7 separate regions of the Homo sapiens genome follow, and regions 1, 2, 3, 4, 5 and 6 are each linked to region 7. Evidence: promoter capture Hi-C in 16 types of primary human blood cells and fetal thymus (Javierre and others, 2016). All regions are on one chromosome and are shown on one strand. Each heading gives the region's core, a stretch centred on a gene start or on the middle of the fragment in contact. The rest is flanking DNA. Distances are from core to core; before and after follow the strand shown.

Region 1 (3,429 bases), core at 8-2,507, 400 kb before region 7:
CCCTCTAGACACCATCACGTCCATCCAGATCCTCCCTCCCTCTAGACACCATCGTGTCCATCCAGAGCCTCCCTCCCTCTAGACACCATCACATCCATCCAGAGCCTCCCTCCCTCTAGACACCATCACGTCCATCCAGATCCTCCCTCCCTCTAGACACCATCGTGTCCATCCAGAGCCTCCCTCCCTCTAGACACCATTGCTTCCATCCAGAGCCTCCCTCCCTCTAGACACCATCGCATCCATCCAGAGCCTCCCTCCCTCTAGACACCATGGCATCCATCTGGAGCCTCCCTCCCTCTGGGGATGGTTTTCGACTCTCCTCTTTCATCTCCCCGACATGGGAAGGTACGGTGGGGAGAAATGATCTTAGAAATTCTGTGTTGGCCTGAAATGCACGAGGAGGAAGCTGCAGAGGTGATGAGGCCCTGTGGTTGGCGGGAACCTGCGCAGAACCAGAGCTCACCCGCGGGCGGGGAGGGGACCTGCCGGGGATTCGGAGTGGAAAGTCACTTTCCCTCTGGGCTCAGTTGGCTTGTGTATCTTTTATAAGCTCTTAAGGAAATAAGCATATCAAAAGCAGAGCTTGAAGATATTAAAAATTAAAAACCCTGCTTAAATTACAATTCGATTTTGGTAGTGAACTCAGTCTGGCCAGATTGCTGAAGGGACACTGGGTGACACAGATGGCCCTGCTTCAGGGGCACAGGCTCGCCTTGTTCCGGCTTTTCTGCAGATCCATACTGATTTAGAAATGATGCTTTCAAATTACCTTCAATAACCTTATTACCAAGCCAGCTGTGTGTACGAACACTTATCAATGCGTCCCTGTGCATTAAGACAAAATGTATGTCATACAAACAGTCTAAATATATATTACTAAGACGGGAAAAAACAAAGCCTCTAGTTAAATTGCTTTGCTGTAATCAAAGATTAATCACTGCAAATGTGTGTGTGTGTGTGTGTGTGAGATAATGTGTGTGTGAGAGAATGTGTGTGTGAGGGAGAGAGAATGTGTGTGTGTGTGTGGTGGGAGAGTGTGTGTGGGGGTGTGTGTGGGAGAGTGTGTGTGTGGGAGAGTGTGTGTGGAAGAGTGTGTGTGTGCAGAAGTGTGTGTGGGACTCTGTGTGCATGTGTGTGTGGAGAGTGCGTGTGGGAGTGTGTGTGGGGGAGTGTGTGTGTGTGAGTGTGTGTGGGAGAGTGTGTGTGTGTGCGTGTGTGGGGGTGTGTGTGTGGGGAGTGTGTGTGTGTGTGTGGGAGTGTGTGTGTGGGAGAGTGTGTGTGTGGGAGTGTGTGTGCGTGTGTGGGTGTGTGTGTGTGGGGGGGAGAGTGTGTGTGTGCGCGCACACACGCACGCCCTCTTTTTCTCAAGGGTTCAATTCTGGCTTTGGACAAACCTACCCATCCCTTACCAAGTCATGCTCTCTGGCCGGTGTGCCCACTGCCATTCTAATAGTGAAATTAATTTTTCCAGATTTCTGAGACTTGGAAGAGCTAAAAAGAGGTCAAGGAGGTCTTTTTTTGTTTGTTAAATTTTGAGATGGGGTGTTGCTCTGCTGCCCAGGCTGGAGTGCAGTGGCGTGATCTCAGCTCACTGCAACCTCCACCTCCTAGGGTCCAATGATCCTTCCGCCTCAGCCTCCAAAGTAGCTGGGACTATAGACTATAGATTATAGATGCACACCACTACGCCTGGCTAATTTTTGTATTTTTTGTAGAGATGGGGTTTCCCCATGTTGTCCAGGCTGGTCTCAAACTCCCGGCCTCAAGTGATCCTCCCGCTGCGGCCTCCCAAAGTGCTGGGATTATAGGCGTGAGCCACTGTGCCCAGGCAGGAGGTCTTAAATGTTGTTTTCTTTCCGAGTCTTCCAGGCCTGCAGCCCAGAAATGCTCCTTTCCTGCAGGCACATGGTGGACAGCAGGCTTGGGGGTGCCCATCTGTGTGGAGGATGCTGCGTCTGCCCCGAGAGCAGCCTGTCCTCCTCCCTCCATGATGCTGCCTGTTGGCCCAGTGTGCGGGTAATGTCTGGGCTGCAATGGGATATTCCTCAGAGAATCCATGGCTGATCATGGCCCGTGGAACACGCCGGTGTGGTGGGGTGCCTCCTGTCTTCCACTCAATGCCCAGGTGAGTGAACTCACTTGGCCCTACAAAGACCCGGGCAGAACCAAGTTGAGATTTTCGTCTTCCACGATGGTATTAGAAAAACCATTAAGGTACATTATTTTACACGTCCTCCTAATCTCTCCATACTGCTTTACTTAATTTGTGATGAAATTGTTGAGAAAGGGTACTTAATGTAGGACAGTCAGTAAAAGTAATTTATCATCTTCCCGCTTCGGTGCTCACGTTATCAGCGAACTCATTTCTGCATTCATCATGCAATCAGCCTATTATTTGCATATTAATCAGGCAGTGGACCGTGAAAGAGCGGCATCCCAGCCAAATGCTGCACTATCTCAGGAGAAACACTCAGTAATTATCATACATCAGTGTTATGATGTGATAATTGATTATAACATCTTTCTGCTGCCCCTGGGGAGTCCCTGCACTAACCCAGCTCCAGGCACTCTGGACAGATTTTTCTTTGCTTGCAAAAAAAAAAAAAAAAAAAAAAAAAAAAAGTTGGAGTAACCATTGCCATGCTCTTAGAATGCTATTTCTGGGGAGCATTGACTGTCTTTTCCACATTCACGAGGTGTTTTTAAGCCACATGGAACAAAATTGACCTTAACTCTGGAATGAGAAGGCCTGATGGCGAGGAAGGAGTGTCCCTCTGGGGCCCGGGTGTCCTCTCTCCTCAGCCTCCTGGGTTCAGAGGTGCTGCTAAGGCATCCATAAAAGTTTCCTTATCAAATAGAATGTTCCAACTACCGCCTAATTGCAAAGCTGGTATAAAGGTAGTTTGGCTGCTTTATTTAGGTGCCAAATGACAGACTAATTTTGGCCGTCAAGGAAAGGACAGACCCAACATCTGCCAATTCAGACTCGGGCTATATTTAGGAATCCGGTTCCAAAGGGAAGAAGTAAACGCAAAATCTAGAGGAGGCCCCGATGGAAGCCTCCTGCCTGGCTCCCAATCTATCCAGGGCAATGCCATTAAGAAACTCCCCTCCTTATCCTCACCGGGAGCGGGGCAGGTCCCTCGGGCCAGTCCGCATGGGGCTGGGGCCTGGGTGTCGGCATGGCTCCGGGGGGCCGTGACAGCTGAAAGGCAGGGCTGCCCTGTAGCAGGCAGAGGACCTCAAGCCAGTGTGTATACGTTCACTGAATTTAGACCAGAAGAGGTTTCAAAGGAGCATGGACACTCCATGCAGCCTAGGCCAGGTGGATTACACATTTTCCAACAGCCAAACCTAGTAAATGTGGCTTCCATGCTGTCACTGATTTGCTGATTCAACTCCTGGGCTCAGGCAATCCTCCTGCCT
Region 2 (3,258 bases), core at 59-2,558, 340 kb before region 7:
GCCTTGTCTGGTGTCTCCTAAGACTGGGGTCCACCGAGTGGCTTTGGCACCTTGAGAAGTGCATTCGCTTTGCCAAACTTCTTAGGTAGCTGGGGACTGCCTCTGAGACCACAGAGAACCTGTTCTGGATAGAGCACTGATATTCACAGGATAAGGCTCTCCCGTTTAACAAACCAGGCTCTCCTGTTGGGCACATTAGATTGCCCTAAAGTGCCATCTAAAGGCAAGGCATGCCCAAGACTGGCCTTGAGGAGAGAGGTGGAGTCGGTGGAAACTTGAGAAATAGGAATAGTGATCTATGATGAAGGTAACTCCTTCCAGTAACTGCTTTTTTTTTTTTTTAGACAGATTCTCGCTCTGTCATCCAAGCTGGAGTATGGTGGCATGATTGGTTCACTGCAACCTCTGCCTTCTGGGTTCAAGTGATTCTCCTGCCTCAGCCTCCTGAACAGCTGGGATGACAGGTGCATGTCACCGCACCCGGCTAATTTTTGTATTTTTAGCAGAGATGGGGCTTCACCATGTTGGCCAGGCTGGCCTCAAACTCCTGACCTCAAGTCATCCACCCATCTCGGCCTCCCCAGGTGCTGGGATTACAGGCGTGAGCCACTACACCCAGCCCAAGGCTGGGTAGTAAAAATTTATTTTTAAATTTTATTTTGTATTTTTTTGAGATGGAGTTTCTGCTCTGTTGCCCAGGCTTAGATCTTGGCTCACTGCAACTGCTGCCTCCAGGGTTCAAGTGATTCTCCTGCCTCAGCCTCCTGAGTAGCTGAGATTATAGGCGCCTGCCACCACGCCTTGCTAAATTTTGTATTTTTAGTAGAGACGGGGATTCACCATATTGGCCAGGCTGGTCTCAAACTCCTGACCTCAAGTGATCCTCCCACCTTGGCCCCCCAGACTGCTGGGATTACAGGCGTGAGCCACTGTGCCCGGCTGGGGGACCACTTTCTTTTCAGAGCAACAGCAGCACCAGCTAAAGCAAAATGTTTTCCTGTTCTGTGGGCTCCTGGGGGGAGGAAGGGGTTTTGGGGATGGCTGAATTTTCCAGGAAGCAGAGTATTTAGAATCACCCAAAAGTACGCTAATGGTTAAGATGCGTCCTGTGCCTGATCTGGGCCGGACACTGTGCTGGGTACTTGCCATAAGGCCTCTCTGAGCACCAAGTGTCAGCCAAAAAGGGGCCGTCAGCTGAGAGCCCTCTTTGGAGCAAGTGGCTGCGACCCATGAGAACGTGGCGGTAAGGAACTCTCCTAGGATAACACCGTGGTGAGATGTCTACACTAAGGAACTCTCCTAGGATAACACCGTGGTGAGATGTCTACACTAAGGAACTCTCCGAGGATAACACCGTGGTGAGATGTCTACACTAAGGAACTCTCCTAGGATAACACCGTGGTGAGATGTCTACACTAAGGAACTCTCCTAGGATAACACCGTGGTGAGATGTCTACACTAAGGAACTCTCCTAGGATAACACCGTGGTGAGATGTCTACACTAAGGAACTCTCCTAGGATAACACCGTGGTGAGATGTCTACACTAAGGAACTCTCCGAGGATAATTCCATGGTGAGATGTCTACACTGTCATGGATGCCACAGCTACAAAGACGGGTGTTTAGAGATGGAGTAGGGAAAAGGAGACAGTTACCACTTTGGAGGGGATGTTCACCATGGGATGTCTGAGATGTTGGAACCACATCAAAGACTTTGCCAAGGAAATGGTTCCTAGGACTTTTTATGTCTTTTCCTACTTCTCATGACAACAGAAGGAGCATCGACGTTGAAAGCTGTCAGTAAAAAATGGAAGGATAACCGGCCTTCTAACTTCGGGTGACGCATCTTCCGAGATGCCAGAAACGGGCCCGCTATTGTGGGTTTTAGGACTAAAAGCGTCCAGGGTCCTACCTGGTTTGCCCTTTCAAGGTCCGTCATGATCATTTCAATCTCGTCGGCCCTAGGAGGGTGAGAGGGAGAGAGCAGGTTAGTCACAAGGAGACCGGCTCAGGGGGTGACTGATGGGACAGCTTCCTAGCTCAGGGCTCGGGAAGGGCTGTGCAGACCCGTGAGTCAATGCTGTCCAGCAGGAGGAGGTGGGCTCACACTGGGGGAAGAGATGTGCTTGCTGATGCCATGCGCTCTTTTGATAATCATGTGTCTGGTGCGTATGGGGTGCCTGCCTTTGATGGGGTCCCAATCTCATTGGGGAGACATAACCATAAAAATATAAAATACAGCATGTCCTGCCAAGGGTTCAAAAAGAGCTCTGAGCAGAGTGCTCTGAAAAAAAGAGGGAGAAATAAATTCTCTTTGTGGGAGGGAATCAAGGAAGGCTGCAGAGGAGGTGACAGGTAAGTGGGGTTTTGAAGGATGAGTAGAAGTTTGCCAGGCTGGGGGTGAGAGGAGGAGCTGGGGAAAGGCTACTTTAGGAAAAGGCACTTGGCAGTGAAAGCCTCACCAGGAATGAGGAAACCAGGAGAAGGTGGCCAACTGGAGGTGAGGAGGGCAGGTGAGGATGGTGACACAGGTTGGGGGACTGTACAGGCTGCAGTGCAGACAGCCTGGGTTCATTGCTATGGCCCAGCCTGGTCGTAAAAGCAATTGTCCAGGTTCTGTCTTTCCCTTTTTCTGTTTTGAAAGTACTTCCTTGAGTAATCTGAAGGCAAATACGCGAACCCAACACAGAGCATCATGAGAGAGGAATGCGGAGAGTGCTTTTATGTTTGTATGTTTGTTTGTTTTGAGACAGAGCTCTGTCGCCCAGGCTGGAGTGCAATGATGAGATCTCGGCTCACTGCAACCTCCGCCTCCTGGGTTCAAGCAATTCTCCTGCCTCAGCCTCCCGAGTAGCTGAGACTACAGGCGTGCACCACCACGCCCGGCTAATTTTTGTATTTTTAGTACAGACAAGGTTTTGCCATGTTGGCCAGGCTGGTCTCAAACTCCTGACCTCAGGTAATCCACCCACCTTGGCCTCCCAAAGTGCTGGAATTACAGGCATAAGCCACCGCGCCCGGCCTGGAGAGTCCTTTTGAGAAGGGCACGGCCAACTCCAAAAGCCTATGGGAGGTTAGAGCAGCACACCCGGGCAGACCACCACCCCAATGTCTGCAAGCAGGTCCTGAGGATGGTCTCTGTTAGAAGGCCACAGGCTGGAACTGTCTGTGACCCAAGGAAGGTTTTTTTTTTTAGCATACCCAAGGGCCATGGAGCCAATGTTACAGCCACAGGGACCTGGTTGGGGTTGAGGGCTCT
Region 3 (3,024 bases), core at 304-2,803, 420 kb before region 7:
GGTGGTGCACACCTGTAGTCTCAGCCACTCAGGAGGCTGAGGCAGGAGAGTCGCTTGAACCTGGGAGAAGGAGGCTGCAGTGAGCCGAGATCGTGCCACTGCACTCCAACCTGGGCGACAGAGCAAGGCTCCGTCTCAAACAACAACAACAACAAAAAAGGAATGACAAGAATAAGGTATCTCATATACATTTGTGAGCTGTGAGGATTAAGTGATATAACTCGGTGAAATACTTAGCTCAGAATCTGAGATCTAGAAGATGCTCAATCTGTCTTCATTAACTCATGAACTTTCCCAAATGCAAAGGTCTTAAATGACTTCATTTATTTAATTACAGAACTAATCAAACTAATTTGGAAGATAACATGGCAGAAGACCCCGAGAAAGCACTGCAAAATCACTAAGAAATAAAAGTTCAGGCCAGGTGTGGTGGCTCATGTCTATAATCACAAGGCTTTGGGAGGTTGAGGTGGTAGGACTGCTTGAGGCCAGGAGTTTGAGACCAGCTTGGGCAACAGAGCGAGACCCCTGTCTCTATAAAAAATCAGCAGGCATGGTGGTGCATTGGCATCCTAGCTACTCAGGAGGCTGAGGTGGGAGGACTGCCTGAGCCCAGGAGTTCCAGCCTGCAGTAAGCTATGATTGCACCACTGCACTTTAGCCTGGGTGACAGAGCAAGCCCTTGTCTCTAAAAATAAATAAATATGAATATAACTATAAATATAGATATATATAAACTAAACCACAAAAGTTTCACTCCTTTTGAACCATGAATGCCTACACTCTCCCTTATTAAATGATGTAATCGAGAGGTGATTTTCTTTCTGGGTCATGGCAGATACCACCTGTTTCTAACTATGTGACAGTGACGGGAAGGGACGTGGCCTTACATCTCTGCAGTTAAAACCTCCAATAACACCTAAGGAACTGCCAGGCGTGGTGGCTCACGCCTGTAATCCCAGCACTTTGCGGGGCCGAGGTGGGCAGATCACCTGAGGTCAGGATGTTTGAGACAAGCCTGACCAACATAGTGAAACCCCGTCTCTACTAAAAATACAAAAATTAGCCGGGCTTGGTGGTGCATGCCTGTAATCCCAGCTACTTGGGAGGCTGACGCAGGAGAACTGCTTAAACCCAGGAGGCGGAGGTTGCAGTGAGCCGAGATTGCGCCAATGCACTCTAGCCTGGGCAACAAGATTGAAACTCCATCTCAAAAGAAAAGAAAAGAAAAGAAAAAAAAAACCCTAAGGGACCAAGGAACGGACCAATCACCGAGCTCCCAGCGCCCCACCTCCGGCCCCAGCCTCACCCCTGTGCGCCATGGCGGCCTCCGGACAGATCAGCCCCTTCCCCTGGGCCGACCGGCGCTCCCTGTGAGCCAGCCGTCGTACCTGTAGTTGTGGAACCAGTTGATGACGGTGCTGGTTTTCAGGTTGAGCTGGGTGGCGAGGTCTTCGATGGTTTTTGGTGACGGGTATGGCTTTTGCTGATACGCTCGTTTCAGCGCCTCCTTCTCCTCCGGAGCCAGCACCACCCGGGGTTTCTTCAGCTGGTGCTGGGGCTGGGGGCTGGCGCCCTGGCTGTACTCGGTGCCGACAGAGGGCGGTTCGCAGGGCTGGCTGTCACTGACTGAGCTGTGCCGCCGCTTCATGTAGGCTGCGGAGGAAGAGATGGCAGACTAAGGTCAGGCCCAGCTGGGACAGCAGCCCAAATCCCCAGTCCCGCTAGCGGGACGGCACAGTGCCGGCTTGCAGGACTTTGCATAGAGCATCTCAAAACACTAAGATGAGGCTGGGCATGGTGGCTCATGCCTGTAATCCAAGCACTTTGGGAGGCCGAGGCAGGCAGATCACTTGATGTCAGGAGTTCAAGACCAGCCTGGCCAATATGGTGAAACCCCGTCTCTACTAAAAGTACAAAAATCAGCTGGGCGTGGTGGTACGCACCTGTAATCCCAGCTACTAGGGAGGCTGAGGCAGAATTGCATGAACCTGGGAGGTGGAGGTTGCAGTGAGATGAGATGGTGCCACTGCACTCCAGCCTGAGTAACAGAGCAAGATTCCGTCTCAAACAAAACAAAACAAAACAAAACAAAAGAAACAACGCTAAGATGAGAGCCATTCTGTTACCAGCACATGCTCACCAAGGACCTGCTCTGACGGAATGTCAGGTCCTCACCTGTCCCTGCACAACTTAACAGTTTAGTAGGGGAGGCAGAGAAGTATCCAGAGAGATGTTCCCAGCAGAGTGAAAAGTGGGGTGGGGGTAAGTAAGTGCAAGAGACCATGGGGATACTGAGAAGAGTTCCTCGGCCAGGCCTGGGTGTGGGCGGCAAGCCACCCAGGTACCGAGGCAAGAGACCGAGGACACAAGCTGTTCTAGTATAATAAAATATAAAACAAGAATAGTTACACCAGATATAGATCTTAGATATGATTATATATGAATATCATTAATCATTAGTTTGTAGCAATTACTCTTTATTCCAATATTATAATAATCCTTGCTCTATAACCATAACCTAGGAAAAACCAGGCCATACAGAGATAGGAGATGAGGGGACACAGTGAGGAGTGACCAGAAGACAAGAGTGCGAGCCTTCTGTTATGCCCAGACAGGGCCACCAGAGGACTCCTTGGTCTAGAGGTAACGCCAGCGTCTGGGAAGACGCCCGTTGCCAGGCGGACCGTGGTCTAGCGGTAGCCTCAGTGTCAAGGAAAAACACAGGCTACTTAGCAGACCGGGAAAGGGAGTATCCCGGGAAAGGGAGTATCCCTTTCCCCGGGGGAGTTTAGAGAAGACTCTGCTCCTCCACCTCTTGTGGAGGGCCTGACATTGTCAGGCTTGCCCGCAGTTATCTGGAGGCCTAACCATCTCCCTGTGATGCTGTGCTTCAGTGGTCACGCTCCTAGTCTGCCTTCATGTTCCATCCTGTACACCTGGCTCTGCCTTCTAGATAGCAGTAGCAAATTAGTGAAAGTACTAAAAGTCTCTAATAATGGTGTAGGTTGTTTCTCTCTTTGT
Region 4 (3,005 bases), core at 403-2,902, 270 kb before region 7:
CTCCCACAGTTTGAGGGCTGGAGGACTTTCCAACTGCAACCAGCCAGAGAGGACACACTTGTTGAAGAGCAAGGACTTGTTGAAGAGTAAAGACACTGGAAGTGTCCCACCTGAGTGGAGGGCTAAACTCATCTTCAAGGCTTGCCCATATCCACTCCAAAAAGCTACAAACAAGTCTCAGGATGATCAAACTGACCTGCAAGTAACTTAACTGCCTGCCCAAACTTAAATAAGACAACAAAATCCAGTTAAAGCTCATGATGTCTAAAATTCAATAGGAAATTACTAGACATGCAAAGCAGCAGGATGATCAGGGGAAAAATCACTTCATAAAAACAGAACCAGAAATGACAAGAGATAATGGAAGAAGCAGACTAGAACATCTATTATCAGCATGTCCAAGGATTTAAAGAAAAATATGAATACAATACAGAGAGGAACAGAAAACATAAAGAATCAAATCGAATTCTGAAGCTTAAAGTATGTGAAATGGAAAAAATTCACTTGATTGGCTGAACAATAGATTAGACACAGTGAAAGAAAAAGATCAGTGAATTTAAAGATATAGTCACAGAAACAAACCAAACAGAAATACACAGAAAGATTGAAAAAAAAAGTTAGTAAACCCTCGGCAACCTATGAAACAAAATTAAGCAACCAAACATACATTTCCCAGAAAGAGGGAAAGGGTGTATTTGAAGAAACAGTGGCAAAATGTTCCAAACTTCATAAAAGCTATAAACCTAAAAATTCAAGAAACTCTACAAACTCCATGCAGGATAAACCCAAAGAACACCAGTAAGCGTAAGAGAGTTTCTGAAATCAAAATTAGAAAAGGAAAATCTTAAATGGTGAAGAGAAAAAGATTAATTGTATATAGGTTAAAAAAATATATATGAATTACTGGAGATCGCCTGTCTCAGAAACAGTCAGTCCAGAGAGAGAAAAAACCAGAACCCAAACCACCAACAAACTATTTCATTTTATTTATTTTATTTCTCTTTTGAGATAGAGTCTTGCTCTGTCACCCAGGCTGGAGTGCAGCGGCACGATCTCAGCTCACTGCAACCTCTGCTTACTGGATTCAAGAGAATCTCCTGCCTCAGCCTCCCGAGTAGCTGGGATTACAGGTGTGCACCATCACACCCAGCTAATTCTTGTTTTTCTAGTAGAGACAGGGCTTTAACCATATTGGCCAGGCTGGTCTCCAGCTCCAGACCTCAAGCGATCTGCCCGCCTCAGCCTCCCAAAGTGTTGGGATTACAGGCATAAGCCACCATGACTGGCAGACCCAAGAAACTATTTTATATCTGACAAAAAATACTCTTTAAAAATGAAGGTGGCTGGACGCGGTGGCTCACGCTTGTAATCCCAGCACTTTGGGAAGCCAAGGCAGGCAGATCACCTGAGGTCAGGAGTTTGAAACCAGCCTGGCCAACATGGAGAAACCCCGTCTCTACTAAAAATACAAAAATTAGCCAGGCATGGTGGCACACACCTGTAATCCCAGTTACTGGGGAGGCTGAGTCAGCAGAATCACTTGAACCTGGGAGATGGAGGTTGCAGTGAGCCAAGATTGCACCACTGCACTCCAGCCTGGGTGACAGAGCAAGACTCTGTCTTAAAAAAAAAAAAAAGGGTGAGATTAAGGTATTTTTTCCCCAGATGAATGAAAGCTAACAGAATTCATTGCCAGTGTGCCTATATCATAATAAATGTTAAAAGGAGATCTATAGACCAAAAGAAAATGATTTCACGTGCATACTTGAATCCACGCAAGGGAATAAACAACACTGGAAATGGTAAATAGATGAGTAAAAATAAAATATTATAATTTCATTTTTAATTTCTTTAAAAGTTAATGGTTTAAAGAAAAAATAGTAACCATGTATTATAGCGTTGTAGTATAGGTAGAAGTAAAATCAGTAAAAATGCACAAAAGAACAAGAGTGAGAAAGTGACAATGTATTATAAGATTCTTATATTGTATGTGAAATGGTGTATTATTTGAAGGTATAAAATGATAAGTTAAAGATGGTTACTTTTCACTTTTTTTTTGAGATGGAGTTTTGCTCTTGTTGCCCAGGCTGGAATGCAACGGCACGAACTCAGCTCGCCGCAACCTTTGTCTCCCGGGTTCGAGAGATTTTCCTGCCTCAGCCTCCTGAGTAGCTAGGATTACAGGCATGTGCCACCACGCCCAGCTAATTTTGTATTTTTAGTAGAGATAGGGTTTCTCCATGTTGGTCAGGCTGGTCTAAAACTGCTGACCTCAGGTGATCTGCCTGCCTTGGCCTCCCAAAGTGCTGGGATTACAGGTGTGAGCCATCATGGCTGGCTTACTTTTCACTTTAAAGTAACCCTTAAGAAAATAAGAGTTATAGCTAATAAGATAATTGGGGAGATAAAAACATTAAAAAAATCAGTTAATCAAAAGCAGGAAAAATACAAGAAAAAACAGGCAAGACAAATAGAAAAAGTAAGATGGTAGACTTCAATCCAACTTTATCCATAATTGCATTAAATGTAAATGATCTAACATTCCAGTTAAGAGGCAGATAGGATGGATAAAAAAGCAAGATGTAGGTATTTACATAACTTAAACATAAAGATACAGACAGGTTAATAGTAAAAGTATAGAAAAATATATAACATAAAAACTCTCATCAAAAGAAAGCCAGAGTGCTTATATTAAAATCAGAAAAAGAATACTTTACGATATGGAATATTTCCAGGAATAATGAAGGTCATTGTATAAACTTAAAAGAATCAAACAATTGAGAGACGATATAATAATCTTAAAGGTATATTTGCCCCAAAACAAAGCTTTAAACTATGCAAATCAAAAACTGACAGAACTGAAAGAAAAAAGAAAAATCCAAAATAATAATTAGATTTCAAAACGCCATCCACATTCAGGAGAATTGCATAAACCCGGGAGGCAGAGGTTGCAGTGAGCCAAAGTCGTGTCACTGCACTCAACTCTGGGCGACAGAGCGAGACTC
Region 5 (2,950 bases), core at 257-2,756, 370 kb before region 7:
GTCTGTTCAGAGTATAATTTTAAAGTTTAATACAGACATAACATTGTTGCAAGTGGAATGTATTTGTAAAGCTTAAAGGGAAGGAAAAAGTTGTAAGGAGAAGCCAGAGAGAGGGGAACCCACCAGGGCGGCCACTGCCCACACCTCACTCCTAACTGGCACCTACCTGGGGACCAGGGGACATAGGCAAAGAGCAACCTCCTAGACTTGGATGACTCAGAAGCCAGGTGGGCAGACCTTCTCTGCAGCCCCAGGTTGGGGAAGGAGTGCAATGACAAAGATGTGGCAAGAGAAGGTGACTTCTCCCTCCCTTGTTCTCAATGGCACTGAAAAGGGCCGCACCCTGATCACTACGGTCTCTGGGCTGTCTCAGTGAGTCCAGGTCCCCAGGATTATTACTGTTTCTTGAGTTCCTTTTGCTGTGGATGTCCCTTTTTTGCTGAGTTTACCAGGGAGAAGAGGGGAAGTGAGGCTATGTGGCTTTGAAGGAGCTGCAAGTGTTTCTTTGAAATACCAAGGATGGAAGAGAGAGACCCAGAGCAGGCTGGCTGGACCGTGAGATTTACGACTCGCAGGTGCAGAGTCAACCGGACCTTCGCCATGTTCCTGCAGCCACAATTTCGGCCTCTGTCCCCCTAGTGTGAGCCACCACACCTGGATAATTTATTTTTAGTAGAGACGGTTTTGGCCAAGCTGGTTTCCTGACCTCAGGTGATCTGTCGGCCTCCCAAAGTGCTGGGATTACAGATGTGAGCCACTGCGCCCAGCTGAAAGGGGTTTCTTAAGATGGAATCCTGTCCTTCGTTTCCTATTTTCTTTAGGATTATGTAATAAAAGACCACGTGGCTCTTTATCTATTCTACAGATCTTTACCAGCAGCCTGCTATCCGCTTGTTGCCGTGGGGAATCAGAACCACTCCTGGTCCGTACTCCAGGAAATTTACAGGCCATTACAGGTAATAGGCAAGACTCCAAGTGGTCCATTAAGACAGAACTTGTGAGGACCCCAGCAGGAGGGATCTTGATGGATTGGAGACCACGTCTCAGTGTCATGATGAACAAGCATTGGAGAAGGGCCCTGAAGGGACAGGGTGTCTTGTGCTGCAGTGCATGAGGATCTGAGGTCAGCATCCCCTGTTGCGTGGGGGTGAGGAAGTGGAAATGGGACGATGCTGAGAAGGGGACGCGGGCAAGAGCTCAAGAGCACAGCTGGTTCACCAGGAAGTGGAAAACTAGGAGCGCATTTGGGCAAAGAAGCCACCTGAGTGGGGCTTCCAGATGTGCACATGGTGGTGGGGCCTGTCATGTGCGGACGCAACAGAAAGAGTTAGCAGAAATGCAGTGACAAGCGGGGCTGGTGTGGCAGCCCTTCAGTGGGGGTAGGGGCAGCCTGTGGTCCGGCAGGCTGTGGATGAGAGGGAGTAGAACGGTATGTGTTGCAGGCTGGAGCCTGGAAGCCTCAGCTCCCAGGGGATGAAGTGAACGTGGGGGTTGGGGGAGAAGAGGAGGAGGAGGAGGAGCAAGAGGAAGAAGAAGAGGAAGAGGAAGAAAGAAGAAGAGGAGGAGGAAGAAAGAAGAAGAGAGGAAGAAAGAAGAAGACAACGAAGACGACAATGAAGACGACGACTAACTCCCAGGGTGAGGCTGGGCAAAGGCCTTCGCAGCAGTTTCTCTGGCTCAAAATTAAAAGGCCCAATTTCTTTTTCTTTTTGGAAGAGGGAAGAAGAGGGAAAGGAAGGAAAGAATGGGATAGGAGAGGCAGGTAGAGAAGGTTAACCAGGTAATGTTTAATAATAAGTTACATGTAATCCCGGCACTTTGGGAGGCTGAGGTGGGTGGATCACCTGAGGTCGGGAGATTGAGACCAGCCTGACCAACATGGAGAAACCCCATCTCTACCAAAAATACAAAATTAGCCCGGGGTGGTGGCTCATGCCCGTAATCCCAGCTACTTGTGAGGCTGAGGCAGGAGAATCGCTTGAACTCGGGAGGCGGAGGTTGCGGTGAGCCGAGATAGCACCATTGCACTCCAGCCTGGGCAACAAGAGCTAAACTCTGTCAAATAAATAAATAAGTAAGCAAGCAAGTAAGTAAGTTACAGAGGCTGGAACTGTTAGAGGGATGTAGGGGTCTGTCCGAGGAGGTGCCGGCAGAGGCTTTGCAGCTGGAGAGGGGATGAGACCGCTCAGGGGGAGAGCATGGTGGGGACAGGGACTACCAGGGCCAGCAGACGCCAGGGAGGCTGGGGGTCCCAGGCGAGAGAAGGCAGCTGGTCATGGAAGTGAGATGGTTCAAGAGGATGCCCGAGGAGCTTTTCTTAGCAGAATGGAATTAACAACACAAAGAAAACGTGGTGAGTGGGTGTAGGCTCATCTTAAAAGGAGAAATGGAAAATAGCAGCAAGAGAGAAAGGGGCTGATGGGACAGCAGGAGGGGCAGGAAGGAAGGGACTCAAGGTCTAGGCAGAGGGGGCAGCCTGCAGAGATGGGAGGTGGCACCCAAGACCAGAGGCGGGAGTCTGTCCCTAGCAGAGGGCTAGGGCATCTGTGGATAGTGGTTGGGGTAACAGTGACAAGGGCAGGGAGGAACCCCTGAGGAAGCCTCGAACCAGCAGAGCTCCAGCCGCGAGAAGCACGGGGGACCTGTGGGGCTGGTCACCATGCCCTAGGCAACCTTCGTTTGCAGTGCTTAATAACCTAGGAGTGAGGCGGGCATGCCAGTGGGAAGGCTTGGAATGGCTGACGATCCAGGGGAGCTGTATGAACGTAGAGGGTCTGACCACAGGCTCCAGGCTTGCAGGGGAGGTCAGTGAGCCTGGAGCATTATGGATGTGGGGGGACAGGTAAAGACCAGGACCTGGGAGCTCCAGAGTGCCAAAGCAGGCTCAGGGTGAGGAGGCAGAGGTGGGGGCTGCTGGCCGAGAAAGGAACTTTGAAGCTTGAGAACTGAG
Region 6 (3,212 bases), core at 503-3,002, 440 kb before region 7:
CAAAGGGATGTGGGGAAAACCACCTTCTTTTTACCCCCACTTTTATTTTATAACAAGCTATTCTCCAATGTTTTAAGAATTTTGGGTGAATTCTCACATCTCCAGAATACACGGGATTTTTTTTTTCCAAGAGGTCTCAGATGGGGGTACGTGAGATGCCCGTTTTCTCAAGGGAAGAGGCAGAAGATGGTTTGAGAGAGAGAAATGCATAGACTAATTAGAGAAAAATGAAAAAAAAAAAGGCTTCTGGGGAGATGGGGACCATTGTTTCGGTGGAGGGTTTCTTTCAAAGAGAGAACAAAATCAGGGCCCCCGGCAATCTTGGAGAAGGGGAGGTGATGATATGGAAAGAGATGCTCTTCCCAGCCTACCTTGGGGTGAGCAGGGCCCTTGCCTTGGCCTGGGGTAAGTTTCCTTCTGCTGGGCCCATGGGATCAAGGCAGGGCGCCTCACCTTCACACCTGATTGGCAACAACTGGGTGTCCTGCTGGCTGAGCTTGGGGCCACAGCAAGCAATCTCCACACCCAACCTTCCTCCACGTTGAACCACCTATAGGGGAAAGGGGCCCTCTGCCTATGATCTCCTAGGTGAGCCCTCAAGCCACAGCCTGGTACTACAAAACACTGTTGCTTTGAAAGATGGTTTTGACCAACTTTGTACGCAAGAAAAACAACAACAAAAAACCAACCAAAACGTATCAACCCATGCGGGCCTTGCAAGAAATCACTCTCTCGCTTGGAGGTAAAGTCTTGGCCAGGCCACCGCGCCCTCTCTGACCACGGCTCGCCGAAACTTCATGAACCCAGAAGTCTTACCAGAGGCTCTAGGAGGCTTTGGGGAACTGAACTTGGCTTTGCTAAGATTCCTCTGAAGCTCCTCAAGCGAGCATTCTTCAACTCAGCAACTCCCTCACACGTTGGTAAATTTTTTTGTTCATAAACACTCTCATTTAAAAAGTTAGACACATAGAGACCACCAGTTTTTGAGTGGCTACTCTGGAGACAGGTGTTTGATTTTGCTGGGGAAACCCCCTCTGCCCCCCAGTCAATCCCCCAGACGCCTTGGTTCTCTGGGGGAGTAGGGGAGGAGAGGAAGGCAGAGGATAGTAACCACTAGAGTGACAGCAAAAAGCATTTATGACAACAAAACACAAAATAACAATACACTCCTGATAAGTACTTAAATGATTAACCTAATAATAAATAGAAGAGGATAGAAATAATTTTTTTTTTCTCAAGGAAACATCCTTTTATAATCACCCTCACGCACGCCGGCAGGTCAGTAGCAGTCAGTCCATTTCAACAAGACAAGATTAAGTGCTGGAAGGGATGGCTGTGGCCTCAGACACTGGGGAAGGGTCTCAGCTTCTGAATCACGGATACTCCCTATCCTGCCTCGTCAGGCCAGCGGCTCCGGCCAGAGCCCGCGGGCCCTGCACGCCCAGCACAGTGGTCACCAAGAGGCAGGCTGGGAGACTGGAGGGAGTCGGGGAGGCCTGTTTTCCCTTCGGTTCATGAACAAACGGAACTACAGTGAACAAACTCATTCATAACCTGAATCGTCCTGGTCTAAAGCTTACTTTGAGTTCATTTGGTGTGCAATACGTTATTTTTTTAAAATGAAGAAAAATGATTTCAATTGCACAGAGCTTTTACACATAGTCATCTATTTAAGTGCTTTCCGTTTAAAGCAAAGTACAAAAAAAATAATAAAATAATAAAAAAGAAGAAGGAAAAGGGGGGAAAAAAGAATTATAAAACAAAAGCAGCTCCGTGCCACTTCAATGTGTCTTGCTGAATGGTCTCTTGTTTCACCAGCAGAAGTCCCAATGCTTCCGTACACACTGTGCTTCTGATTAATTTCCATAGGGATGTAGCCGTGACATTGGGATATAAGGCACCTTTTCTTTCTGATTACAGAAAGCTTGATACATAGCATATAGCATATTTTGTGGTAGAAATTAAAGCGTAAACACTACAGAAATTACAGTAACGTAGACTAATGCTTTCTTAACATTATCGGGTAAACTAAAAGGATTCATGAAAAGCAACTCAAAGGCATCTTAAGAGTTTAAGAACGGGGGCATGGGGGAAGTGCACATTTATGCATAGCCAAATGTCTTTCTCTCGCCAGCCTTTTTTTTTTGTCTTTTTTTTTTTTTGGGATTTTTCGCCTACAATGCCCAACTTTTAAAGTTAGCATTTTGGAGGAGACTAGGCGCTTTGGAAATGTCTTGTTAAAGCTAAATGTCACTTCATCCAAAAATGAAAACTCGAGATGATGCCACGGATGGCATGGACACGGTTATCTTTGGAGGGAAGGTGGTGGTGGGAGAGGCCTGGGCAGGAGGAGGCAGTTTTTGGAAGTCGGGCAGACAGGCGGAAATTGCATTTCCTTCTATTCCCCTGACCAGGGTGGTGAGGAGCACAGGCCGCCGGGGCCTCTGGGATTGGGAAGACTGGGCTGGGGGGCCGGGAGTAGGGCTGGGGCTTGTTTTACGCTCTGCCCCCCACACCCCCTCCTCTTCCGTCCTGATTAAGCCCAAGGGTTGGTGGACTTAACTTTCAGCCCATCTCTAAGGGTTTCACAGACTGGATCTTTCTAAACTTTATTGGGTACCTGCTTCCCCTTTTCCCTGGTAGTTTTCATCTACAAAAAGTCAAAACCTGATCGAAATAGAAATAAGATCATCAAATTGGACCATTCTCTTAGCGTTCGAGTGTGCCGGCCAGACTGGCATTCAGTACACGCTGAGATCCAACCACATCACACTGGCCTCAGGTCACCACCTCGCCACTCAGGGCACAAGCCCTGCCCTTGTGGTCACAAAGGCTTCCCTAATGTCGTCGATGCCCAGGTGAAACCACAGAAGCACTGAGGGCTTTCTAAATGTGAGCTTTGGCTGGTCAATGCCCAAGCACAGGATGCTGTCCCCATCCTTAGGTTCTTACTTGCAAACTGTCTCCAGCAGGGGAACACTTTGGCCCCCACAGTGGACAGACCCACCTCCAACCACCAGCCCCAGGAGCTGATTTTCTTCGGTGCTGGATGGGAACTGGCATATTCTTTTGGGATAAGAGGGTGATGCCACTGTGGACGGGGCGTGTAGGCTGGAGGAAGCCATCTATCCTTTTCCGTCTTTGAGATGTTTGATGTTTGCAAAGGAGTGTTCGCAGTGACGCTAAAACCATGCCAGAGACAAGAGACACCC
Region 7 (3,076 bases), core at 9-2,508:
CTGGAAAAATGAGAAAAATCTGGAACTAATGAATTCTCTCCCAAACTCGTTCTATTGACTCACTGACTATCGGTGGGAATTAACCAGACACCAACTCCAAAGGCCTCCTCACCGCCCAGAGAAAGAACCAGATTGGCCTGAGACTTGAACTTTGACATTCCGTATTCGACTAAAGTTTGCAAACCCATAGGAAATCATCTAAGGCCAAATCGTTAGCAACCACCAAAAGCAAAGGAGTAAAGAGGAATGAAGTTCAAATAAGGGACTTTGTTTTGGGGTTTGGTTTTGATTTCTTCTTAATATCCACATAAAGTGCAAGTAAACTGACATGGAAACTTTCGATGGAACCCTGGAGCCCTGATCCCCTGAAGAAGTAGCTAATATGGGGGACAGGAAGGTTTAGAGTTCTTAAAATCTAGTAACTCTAGAAACCAAATCCATTTTCCAGGCAATTTTGCCAGGATGCTTTAAAAAAGACACTTCATTGATATTAAGCTAGGATGTCACATTTAGGAAGACAAGAGAGAAAAATAATAATAATGTTTGTCCTTAAAACTCCACAACGGGTTTTACAGTAAGCACAGGAATTAAATTATGGTAAAAGGGAGCTATTTTTACTAAAACAGGGTAGACCAATTTATCAAAAATGCCATTCGGCTGTGTTCATTACATCCAGGAATCTAATTTACACAATAGACACTTTGGAGTAATCTATTTTAGTCAATAAATACTTAAACTCCTTTAAGTTTTAATCTTATCGGAAATACATATTTCGCATAGTCTTCTTCCTAGTTAAGCGAGAAATTTCAGGAAATTTCATAACGACTATGACTCGGCTTTATCGTTCTTAGTAGGCAAGAGCAGAAAACAAGCATATACAATTAAAGTTGTCAGATTCCATTTAAATATGTTTTAATCCAACCCGCTTCGTTTGATACAAGCCTGCATCTCGAGCTTTGCTCCCAAAGGTATTGCGGTAGGTCACTGTCACCAGTCCTCCAGGTTAGGAAAGTTCAGCCAAGTTTATCTTCACGCACACCTTAGCAGTTGGGAGTAGCTGCAGTTCCCCAGGGGCCCTGAGGAACCCTCCTATCCCCTCCCAGAGCACCAGGCCGCCCTAGAGCATTCTAAGCCGCGGGACCCGGGCACCCCCCGACATCCCCGGTTCCCTCCGCGCCTGCAACCTCGGGACTTCTGGCCCACACGCCGCTCACCTTCAACCTGGCTCCGGCTACGCACAACATCCACCTGGCAGAGTCCCGGGGCTGTCCCGGCGCCGCGGGCGCCGAGCTGGCACGTGCGGGGCGGACCCTAAGGGTGCGCCGCTCCTCCGGGCGGGGGGTGGCAGGCAGGCACTCGCCCCTTGGGCACGGCGGCGACTCGGGCGCGGGCCGGGGAGCCCCGGCACGGTCCCCCCGCGGCGCCGGGGACTCCGCGCGCGGACCACCGCCCGGCATGCCACGGTCCCAACGGGCCCCCGGGGCTCTGCTTTCGAGAACCCGGCCCGAGAAGGCATCTCCGAGCGCACCCGCCGCGCGCTCCATGGCGGGCCCTGCAGAGAGGGCAGAAGCCCCGAGGGGACGCAAGGAAGGGACCCGGCGCCGCAGGTCACCGGGGGCCGCCGGAGCCCCCAGGCGCGCGGCGATCGCGGCTCGGACCGGCGGCGGGGAGGCAGCGTACACTGCCCGGGCACCCGGGGGAACAGCTTGGGGCCTGCCTAGGGGAAAGTTGCAGCCTCCTCCTCCCGCGCCCGCACCCGGCGGTCCGGGACACCGGGACCCAGCGACACTGCGCGCGGGGCACCCCCGCCGCCCCTCGCCAAGTTTCCCCAAAGAGCCCCCGCGGGGGTCCGCCACGGAGGAACAGGTCCGCGTCACCGACACAGGCACACAAAAGAGCGCGGCGGCCGCGAGGTGCGCGGGTGGCCCCGGGGCGCTCCCCGGGACGTAAACAAACCCGGGGGTCCGCGCCGGGAGCCACACGCGGGGTGCCGGAGCGGCGGCGCGGCCCGGGCCGGTGACAGCCGGGGGCGGCGGCCGGGGCCGGCCGGGGGTAGCGAGCGCGGGCGCCTGCCCGGCCACCCGCCCGCCTGGCCGGAGCCGGGCCGCGCCGCCGCCGCCGCCGCCGGTGGCCGCTCTGACCCTCCCCCGAGCCGGCGGCACCACAGCGCCACCAGCCCCAGCTCCGCCGCGCCGGCGGCAGTGGCGGCGGCTCCTCCTGGAGAGGCAGGCGCTTCACCCCCCGCAGCAACTCCCCACAAACTTTCCCCGGGAATACGGCGGGCCGGGGGCGCGGGGCGAGCGGGCGGGCGGGCGCCACCGCCGGGCCGCGGCCCCCTCCCGGCGCCCGCCGCCGCCCGCCCCCCGCCGCCCGCTCCCCGCTCCCCGCTCGCGCGCGCACCCCGCGGGCCGCCGGGGCCGCCCCCTCCCCGGTCCCGCGGCGGCAACGGCGGCGGCGGCGCTGGCGGCGGCGGCGGCGCGGGGCCCGGGGGGGCGCCCGGGGTGGGGGCAGACACCGGGGGCAGTGGTGGCGGCGGCGGCTCCCGGCGCCATCTTGGGCTGATCGATGAATTGAACAAAGAGGATCAATTTCCGATCAAGCGAGTGATCAATGGGGGCCGGGGAGCGGGAGGGACTCGGCCCCGACTCGGCCCCGCGGTGCCCGGCACCCCCCTCCTCCCCGCCGCCGCGGGCCCCCCGGCGGCTGGGCCAGCCCGGGGCCCCCGGCGGAGGCCGCGACCGCCCGCAGCCCCCACCCCCGGGCGCGAGGCCGAGCGCGGAGGAGCCTGACCTGCAGCTGCTGTAAATCAAAGCGCTTCCAATATTGAAACATCGATCCCACATTGGCCGCCATCTTGAGACATATTGAGACGGAGTGAGCGGCTGATAGAGAGGGGGCTGGAGTTCAGGAGCCGCCAGGAGGCAGCAGGCGGGCGGCGCCAAAACCCGGCCTGGAGCCGGCCGCCGCCGCCGCCACCGAGGACGCGGACTCCTCCTCACGGCACCGCCGCAGCCATGGCGAGCCCGAGCCGGAGCCGGAGTCGCAGCCCCAGGGCGCGGCGGCCGCGGCCCGGCCT

Evidence for each region. Contacts are between HindIII fragments. The CHiCAGO score rates a contact against its expected background, and 5 or more counts as called.
Region 1: a fragment that was not itself captured here is called in contact with the fragment with the promoter of CUX1 in region 7 in 5 of 17 cell types (endothelial precursors, M2 macrophages, M0 macrophages and 2 more); the score reaches 7.9 in endothelial precursors.
Region 2: a contact is called between a fragment that was not itself captured here and the fragment with the promoter of CUX1 in region 7, in 4 of 17 cell types (naive B cells, M2 macrophages, M1 macrophages and 1 more). The highest score is 7.2, in naive B cells.
Region 3: a contact is called between a fragment that was not itself captured here and the fragment with the promoter of CUX1 in region 7, in 11 of 17 cell types (endothelial precursors, megakaryocytes, M2 macrophages and 8 more). The highest score is 22.1, in endothelial precursors.
Region 4: a contact is called between a fragment that was not itself captured here and the fragment with the promoter of CUX1 in region 7, in 10 of 17 cell types (M2 macrophages, endothelial precursors, erythroblasts and 7 more). The highest score is 12.1, in M2 macrophages.
Region 5: a fragment that was not itself captured here is called in contact with the fragment with the promoter of CUX1 in region 7 in 6 of 17 cell types (M2 macrophages, M1 macrophages, endothelial precursors and 3 more); the score reaches 12.3 in M2 macrophages.
Region 6: a fragment that was not itself captured here is called in contact with the fragment with the promoter of CUX1 in region 7 in 14 of 17 cell types (M1 macrophages, endothelial precursors, M2 macrophages and 11 more); the score reaches 16.8 in M1 macrophages.

The regions. Positions count from the first base shown.
Region 1 is chr7:102,214,426-102,217,854 of GRCh38, reverse strand. All of the region lies in intron 20 of CUX1 (cut like homeobox 1), which reads right to left. Among named protein-coding and RNA genes, the nearest start is that of SH2B2, 71 kb to the left of the region's middle. The HindIII fragment of the contact is 5,756 bases long and covers 1-3,429 here.
Region 2 is chr7:102,157,262-102,160,519 of GRCh38, reverse strand. It overlaps CUX1 (cut like homeobox 1), which reads right to left. Exons shown (of 24, transcript NM_181552.4): 9 at 1,912-1,960. Among named protein-coding and RNA genes, the nearest start is that of SH2B2, 130 kb to the left of the region's middle. The HindIII fragment of the contact is 7,216 bases long and covers 1-3,258 here.
Region 3 is chr7:102,237,952-102,240,975 of GRCh38, reverse strand. It overlaps CUX1 (cut like homeobox 1), which reads right to left. Exons shown (of 24, transcript NM_181552.4): 23 at 1,392-1,656. LOC124901711 (a long non-coding RNA gene) reads left to right here. Exons shown (of 3, transcript XR_007060458.1): 3 at 338-424. Among named protein-coding and RNA genes, the nearest start is that of SH2B2, 47 kb to the left of the region's middle. RefSeq lists a silencer at 846-915. The HindIII fragment of the contact is 5,463 bases long and covers 1-3,024 here.
Region 4 is chr7:102,086,634-102,089,638 of GRCh38, reverse strand. The region is part of intron 4 of CUX1 (cut like homeobox 1); the gene reads right to left. Among named protein-coding and RNA genes, the nearest start is that of SH2B2, 200 kb to the left of the region's middle. The HindIII fragment of the contact is 2,352 bases long and covers 477-2,828 here.
Region 5 is chr7:102,190,363-102,193,312 of GRCh38, reverse strand. All of the region lies in intron 12 of CUX1 (cut like homeobox 1), which reads right to left. Among named protein-coding and RNA genes, the nearest start is that of SH2B2, 95 kb to the left of the region's middle. The HindIII fragment of the contact is 2,866 bases long and covers 74-2,939 here.
Region 6 is chr7:102,254,336-102,257,547 of GRCh38, reverse strand. CUX1 (cut like homeobox 1) reads right to left here. Exons shown (of 24, transcript NM_181552.4): 24 at 1-3,212. Among named protein-coding and RNA genes, the nearest start is that of SH2B2, 31 kb to the left of the region's middle. The HindIII fragment of the contact is 349 bases long and covers 1,578-1,926 here.
Region 7 is chr7:101,815,808-101,818,883 of GRCh38, reverse strand. CUX1 (cut like homeobox 1) reads right to left here and starts at 1,258. Exons shown (of 24, transcript NM_181552.4): 1 at 1,215-1,258. The coding sequence starts at 1,244. RefSeq lists silencers at 1,309-1,358, 1,409-1,478, 1,509-1,588, 1,659-1,978, 2,089-2,248 and 1 more and an enhancer at 2,074-3,002. The HindIII fragment of the contact is 10,531 bases long and covers 1-3,076 here.